Linked DNA regions of Homo sapiens: region 2 is linked to region 1. The links are contacts of gene promoters, found by promoter capture Hi-C in human tissues and cell types (Jung and others, 2019). All regions are on one chromosome and are shown on one strand. The core of a region is centred on a gene start or on the middle of the fragment in contact, and the rest is flanking DNA. Distances in the headings are between cores, read along the strand shown. Region 1 holds the start of EMP2 (epithelial membrane protein 2). Region 2 overlaps TEKT5 (tektin 5).

Region 1 (3,701 bases), core at 420-2,919:
AAGGTTATGTTTGTAAAGTAACCGGCACACACTAAGCCCTCAGCAAATGCAGAAACCTGCCTGCTCCATCCCCTACCTGGCCTTTCCATTCTGGGAGACTCTGGAGTTTTCTCTGTCCTCCACATGGCCATAGGCAGGTAGGTGGGCCCTTCCTGGTCCTCCTCTATAGCAACCAGACCTCACCCTCCTCCCCTTTTATGGAGGAAGAGGACTCAGTTCATATTAGTGCCTTCCTGTCCCCTCTCCAGCTCCAAACACACACACACACACACACACACACACACACACACACACACACAATTATCTTGGGGGATGGGAGTCTTGGTTAACTGTAGAATTAAAGGAGATTTGGCAGGTCAGACCCTAGGCCAACTTGGGAAGCTCAAGGCCTGGGGGAGGGGGTGGCCCTTTAGAGGGGATCTCAAATCCCCCAAGGATCTCTAATTTAGAGCCAACAAGGCCCTCTCGTGACAGAGCTCCTCAGCAGGACTAAAAAAAGATGCTCAACAGAAAATACAAACATGGAGTCCAACCAGAGCACAGGATTGCACAATAAATTAACATTTCTTAAAAGGGTTTCTCATTCTCTTGTCAGTAGCACAAGTCAATTGCCTTGTATTCTGGGGTATGTGCAAGTAACATGAACTTGTTAAATTAAAAGTTTAAAATATACTGTTATATGTTGTGACCCTGTTTTGGAATTTCTTCAATTTGTAAAAATACACTGACTCCCACTCCCTCCTTCCACACACACACGATGGGGCTCAGGCGCCTCTGGTCTCCTCCCCCATCCTCCCAAGAGCCCCTAGAGCAGATCAGCCCTCCCAGTTTCCAGATGGGGAAACTGAGGCTGGAAAGAAAGGCAGTTCCTTTGATGTCATTTCCAGGGACACTAAATACCAGGACTGTGGGTTGAAAGGCTGTGGGGAGTGCTTTGTGTGAGTGTGTGTGTGTGTGTGTGTGTGTGTGTGTGTGTACTGGTCGGGTGGGGGGAGTGAACGGGGGGTCCTGGAAGAGTCTGAAGACTGGTTGCTGGGCATCTCGCACCAAGGCCAGGACTCCAGGTGAGATGATAAAAATAACAATGGCTGACGTCTATGGAGCAGGTACCATGAGCCAAACATTGTGGACGTATTACCACCTTCCGACCTATAATCACTCCCATTCCCAGAAGAGGAAACTGAGACAGGGGAGATTATGGACGAGCTCAGGAAGTTCATAAAAGGCCAGAGAAGGGGTTCTAGAGCAGGGAGCCCGGATTCCAAAACTCCTTAGGGAAGAGGAAGAAAAGGGGAGAAGAGGAGAGGAAAGAGAATGAGAGGGATGTGGAAACCTGCAGAGAAGGGAAGACCCTTGCTCCCGGGAGCCTCCCTTTCTCCCTTTTCCCCCGGGCCCGTGCCACCGGCTCCGCCCCAAAGCTGGCCACAGAGCCGCAGGGAGGCGGGCGGGAACGGTGGTGCGGGGGCGCCAGGGCGCTCCCGGCCTCGGCCTTTCCCTCCAGGGCCCCCTCCTTTCGCCGGCGGCCCCTCCCACTCGGCTCTCCCGGCTCCTGGCGTCACGGCCCGGGAGGCGGGATCGGGGAAGGAGGGGCCCCGCCGCCTAGAGGGTGGAGGGAGGGCGCGCAGTCCCAGCCCAGAGCTTCAAAACAGCCCGGCGGCCTCGCCTCGCACCCCCAGCCAGTCCGTCGATCCAGCTGCCAGCGCAGCCGCCAGCGCCGGGTGAGTTGTGGGCGCACCCAGGGCGCGGGGCGACATCGGGGGGGCCCCGGGATCGTGTACGCCCGGGCAGCAGGGACGCGACCCCTCCACTTACTGGACCGGGAGCAGCCCCCGGAATTGGTGACAGTAACGGGAGGGCCGAGGTGCCACCCATGCCGCCGACCTCTGGTCTGCGCCACGCTCGCTCCGGCCCCAGAATTCCACTTCGCCATCCCGGGACAGCTTCCCACGCCTTTTGAGCCGAAGCAGGCGGGAAAAGTTTGGGGAGGAGTCAGGGCGCCTCCCCTCGCCCCGCCGGACTTACACCCGGGGCTCTTGGAGTCCAGGGAGATCCCCAGGTCGCGTGAGGGATTCCCGGGCAGCGTCCCCAGACTCGCCTCGCGGGCAGGACTGGTGCGCCAGGCCGGGCCAGCGGGTCCTCCTGGGCTGCGTACCCCTCTAGGCCCCCGCCGCTGCTCCGTCGCGCCCCCGAGCGGCGAGGAGCGACTTCTTGGGGGTCAGGAACGGTGGAGGAGCCGGGAGGCGCTGCTGGGATGACACCTCTCTCCCTGCCAACTCTAGAAGGGCTTGGGGGGCTTTAAAGAGGCGAGACCGCACCCATGTGTTCCAGAGGTAGGAGAGGCTGCAGCTCGTAGTGTGTATTCTACGCCCTCCCCAAATCCAGAGATCTGAGCACGCTCCAGGGAGGTCTTTTAGGTGAAGATGTGGGGCTGGACATGGGGACTCCGAAGACACCACAGGGCAAAGCTCTCCCTCCAGGCCAGCTTCAGTTTTGGGGAAGGGAGCACTGCCCCTCCCAAGCTTTGAGGGTGTGTGTGTGTGTGTGTGTGTGTGTGTGTGCACCTTGATCTTATAATTCAGCTGTGTCTAAGTAAGGGGCTTGGAGAGGGACTTAAGAAGCCTCCAGTTCAAATACAGTGTGATTCCACTTTTATGAGACACCTAGAATAGGCAAATTTTATAGACAGAAAGTAGAATGATGGTTGCCAGGGCCTGGGGGTACCTGGGAACCGGGAGTTACTGTTTAATGGGACAGAGTTTTTCTTGGGGAGGATGAAAAAGTTTTGGGTATACATAGTGGCAATGGTTACACAGTATCGTGAAGGTATTTAATGCCACTGAGTTGTATGCTTATCATCGGTTAAAATGATGATTATGATGTTATGCATATTTTATCATAAAAATTTTTTAAAAGCCGCCTTTAGCCACCTCTGCACTCCAGTCTGAATCAGAGAGAAATCTAAGAACCGACACATTATTGCTGGGCACCTCTTCCTGGAATTCGGCCTTCAGTTAAGAAAGCTTAAAGAGGACGAGGAAGGGACGGGGTCCTGGTTTCCCAGGAGTCACACAAGGGGAAGGATGGCGACCTGAGCTGCTGGAGGTTTGCAGTTGGCTGGTGCTCGCCCTCCATCTCCGTTTCTCCCTGGGAGCCTCACCCCTGAGCTGTTTCCAGCACGCTCTCCTGTTGCAAGTGGGGAAACAGGCTAGAGATCTAAGTCGGTTTGCTCAAGGCCACTGAGCTGGTAAATGCAAAGAACTAGACCTTGAACCTCCATCTGCCTCCCAAGCCCTCCCCTTCTTTCCACCTGGAGATGCCCTGCTGGTTTGCAGGGAATGAGGGGAGACCCTTCTGGGGAAAACAGGGCGTGGATGCCCACGGGGGCCTTGGCAAATGCCAAGACTACAGCCCAGGGAGAGGCGTGGAGGTGGCAGGAAGGTGCAGAACCTGTTTTCCCACTGAGGGTTTTTGGATCTCACCACCTCCATCCCATGGGGAGCCAGGGAGTCGAGTAGGAGGCAGAGGGCTGGCCACATAGCCTGGAGCCTCCTCTGCCCCTCAAGTGGAGAGATTGAGGTGCGCCTGAAATCCAGAGAATGTGTTTGTGTTGGAAACCACGGAGTCGACCAGCTGAGTGGGTGAGGGCAGGGCCAGGCGGAAGCGTCCCTGTGAGGAGGGTGAGGCTTGGGGCTGACACTGCC
Region 2 (3,763 bases), core at 372-2,871, 88 kb before region 1:
AAATGCTCTCTTTAAAAATGTAACTGTTATTAGTTGAGCTTAGCCTGATAGTCCTTGGCAAAAGGCATTTCTGGAAAATTCCAAGTGCCCATCCTTACCTATGCTGCAAGGCAGTTATTTCCCAAGTGGTCACAGGAATCCACCTTGTAAGACCAAATCTACACGGCTCCACGTGCAGACAGTGGTTTGGGGCTGTGCAGACAGCCTCATCTGTTCACTGGGATGCTAGAGTTCTGTCACCTCGGCCACACCCCAAGCCTCATAGCTTGCCCCGGGGCCTCATCCTTGCACTTTGAGGCTCCAGGTATCACTGTGTCATACTGACCACTGCTAGCAAAGGAGCTGGTGACTTCTCTGGACTAAAGAAGTTGGTGGCCACAGAGTGGGTTGCTGCCTTTGAGTGCTGATTCCTCTGAGACCCAGGGCCCTGGAAACTTCCAGAAAAACAACCCCTCATTTACATGCAATTACCCAAGTGAATGTGCATTTGAGTGGGGGATCTCTTAATGTGTAGGGGGAAAAGATGCATAAATATGGTTTTTGGGGGTAGGATGTGTGGGGTCAGGGATACTTCTATGGAGAAAGTGCTTATTCTGACATTGTGGGAACTAGACCCTGGCAGGTGAAATATTATATGTGTTACATGGATATAGCATTAATATCACTGAATCATACAATGAGAAGGTTATTCCTTCTTCATTGCTTCTGACCATCTCAAAAGTGCTAGAATGCCTTCCTTACCTCTTTTAACACCTGCCAATCTCCCTTTTATAATTTTTTTTTGGAGACAGGGTCTCTCTTTGTTGCCCAGGCTGGAGTGCAGTGGCACGATCTCGGCTCACTGCAACCTCCGCCTGCCAGGTTCAAGCGATTCTCCTGCCTCAGCTTTCCGAGTAGCTGGGATTACAGGCATGCACCACCTTGCCCAGCTATTTTTTTTTTGTATATTTAGTAGAGATAGGGTTTAACCATGGTGGCCAGGCTGGTCTTCAGGTGATCCACCGGCCTCAGCCTCCCAAAGTGCTAGGATTACAGGCGTGAGCTACCGTACGTGGCCTCACCTGTTGATAAGCATTTCGGTTGTTTCCAGTTTGGGGCTGTTACAAATAAAGCTGCTGTGAACACTCATGTACACATATTTGTATGCACTCTCACAGAGTTCAAAAAATATTTGGTAAAAAATGGTGATTTCACATAAAAAAATTTCAGATTTCCAGCGTCTCTTGAAAAATTAGTAGCTCTAGCAATTCAGAGCTCATGTTTCTACAGGGGAACAGTGGGTAAGGGTTGAGTGGCTGCTGCCTCTCTTTGGGTCAGGTGCTCCAGTTAGCCTCAGACCCCACCACTCCCTATTACAGCACGCTTCCCTCATTTGCATTATTTACTTGATCCTGTAGCCCTGTATTTGTGCACTCTGCTTTATATATCAGAGGAAACTCAGACAGGCAGATAAACAAAACATCCAGGCATAGGAAGAGGTTGAACAGAACAGAGAAGGGCTATGAATTTTAACCTTGAAGGGCTTTGGTTTCATTCTGAAGTTTCTTTGGGGTTTTGACTCCCAAGCAGCCATTGTTAGCATCAGCAAAACCACCCCTTCCCAGGAAGGCCTGGGCAGGAAGGCCTGGCGTCTGAGGGGTGAGGGCCCCTGCTGGTGATCTGAGGCCCTGCGTGTCTACTGCCAACCCCTCTGTTTGTCCAAGGAGGTCTGGAACCCATTGTGCAGTGGGAAATGCTTTTGTGCTTTGCAGCCGATTCCTTCCAGCACTGGAGCCTGCAGCCAAGCTACTGACGGCTGGTTTCTAAAACCGGCCCAGCCCTGGGGAAGTGGAGCTGGCAGCCTGGCCCTGTGCTACCCTCCTCATGAGACACCACTGCATCCCAGGGAGAAAGTCTCTCTCTTCTCTGATGGTGTCACGGAGGAAGACTCATCATGATGCCGACCTCTCTTTAACACCTATCCTTCCTTTGCCCGTCTGCCTTTCTAACAAAGGCATCAGGCCTCAGGCTTAGAAGCTTTGGAAAGCAATAGAACCTAGATATAATTATTAACTTCTTTTTTCCAGCTAGGTGTGGTGGCTCACATCTGTAATCCCAGCACTTTGGGAAGCCAAGGCAAGCAGATCACCTGAGGTCAAGAGTTCCAGATAAGCCTGGCCAACATGGTGAAACCTCCGTTTCTACTAAAAATACAAAAATTAGCTGGGCATGGTGGCGCATGCCTGTAGTTCCAGCTACTTGGGAGGCTGAGGCAGGAGAATGACTTGAACCTGGGAGGTGGAGGTTGCAGTGAGCCAAGATCATGCCACTGCACTCCAGCCTGGGCGACAGAGCGAGTCTCCATCTCAAAAAAAAAAAAAAATTATTAACTTATTTTTCCCATTTTGCCTATTGTTATGGTACCCTCTATTGGTGGAAAACAATAGTAGTTTTCCACTTGTGGAAATAATTTAAAGATTTCATTTCAAATACATATGTTAAAGCCTGAAACAGGCTGATTTGAAGAAAAATATTAAATGATTATGTAGATGGTATGTGGATATGGGAAATATGATGACGATGCTGCCCAGTACCTGAAATTTGGGAATGTTAAAAGAAAAACTTAAAGCAGATTAAATTTAACAGAATTTAATTGAGCAAAGAATGATTCGTGAATTGGGCAGCCCCCTGAACCAGAATGGATTCAGAGCAACCCCAAAGCTGCCACGTGGTCGGATGATATTTACAGACAGAAAAAGGAAAGTGATGCACAGAAGACGGAAGTCAGGTACAGAAACAGCCAGATTGGTTACTGCTCATTGTTTGTTTGCCTTATTTGAACATGATTTGAACAGTTGGCTGCCTGCGATTGGCTAAAATTCTGTGATTGGTATAGGAGTCGGTTCCAGGCTGTTCACACATCCAGTTAGGTTACAGTTCACTGTGTAGGGGAGAGATCTTTAACATACGTAAGGAAGGAAGCCAGGCGTGGTGGCTCATGCCTGTAATCCCAGCACTTTTGGAGGCTGAAGTGGGAGGATAGCTTGAGCCCAGGAGTTTGAGACCAGCCTGGGCCACAGAGTAAGATCTTGTTTCTACAAAAAACATAAAAATTAGCTGGGCATGGTGGCATGCGCCTGTAGTCCCAGCTACTTGGGAGGCTGAAGTGGGAGGATCACTTGAGCCCAGGAGGCCAAGGCTTTGGTGAGCTGTGATTGTGCCACTGCACTCCAGCCTGTGCAACAGAGTGAGACCCTGTCTCAAAAAAAAAAAAAAAAAAAAAAAGTAAGGAGCCAGTGTTAGGCTGAATGAAGTTTAGTTCATTTCATCGGAATCCCTGGCAGAATAGTTACCCCTGCATCAGTGTAGATAGTTCATATGGGCAACTGTGCCATGAAAGTGACTGCCATGTTTTAGGAAAACACACCCGCATCAGTATTCAAATAAGGAAACAGCCGTATGTCCTGATGGAGGGATGACCAGGTTGCAAGGGCACTTTTGACGAGACACAGTTCTCACGCCTTGTATTGACTTCAGAACAACACCCCATCCCTGGCTTCATAAGGTGATCCACCCATGCAGACACTCAGTAATCAATGGCTGCTGTTCATTCCTGTGCAGGCGTTCCCTCTCTCTGCAGTCTGCATTTTCTTAGAAGTTGTGGCCTGAGTAATTCTTCACTGTAGTGGTTGTCAGCTGAAGGCAGTTGTGTCCCCCAGAGGACACTTGAAATGTTTGGAGGCATTTTTGGTTGCTATAGTTTGGTGAGGGGGTGCTGCTGGCA

The links. Contacts are between HindIII fragments. The study calls those that stand out against the background at their distance.
Region 2: a contact is called between a fragment that was not itself captured here and the fragment with the promoter of EMP2 in region 1, in 2 of the 25 tissues and cell types used here (H1 embryonic stem cells and liver).

Annotation. Positions count from the first base shown.
Region 1 is chr16:10,578,566-10,582,266 of GRCh38, reverse strand. EMP2 (epithelial membrane protein 2) reads left to right here and starts at 1,669. Exons shown (of 5, transcript NM_001424.6): 1 at 1,669-1,718. RefSeq lists silencers at 1,509-1,748, 3,101-3,395 and an enhancer at 3,066-3,643. The HindIII fragment of the contact is 8,569 bases long and covers 1-2,770 here.
Region 2 is chr16:10,666,480-10,670,242 of GRCh38, reverse strand. The region is part of intron 5 of TEKT5 (tektin 5); the gene reads left to right. Among named protein-coding and RNA genes, the nearest start is that of TEKT5, 27 kb to the left of the region's middle. The HindIII fragment of the contact is 5,003 bases long and covers 1-3,763 here.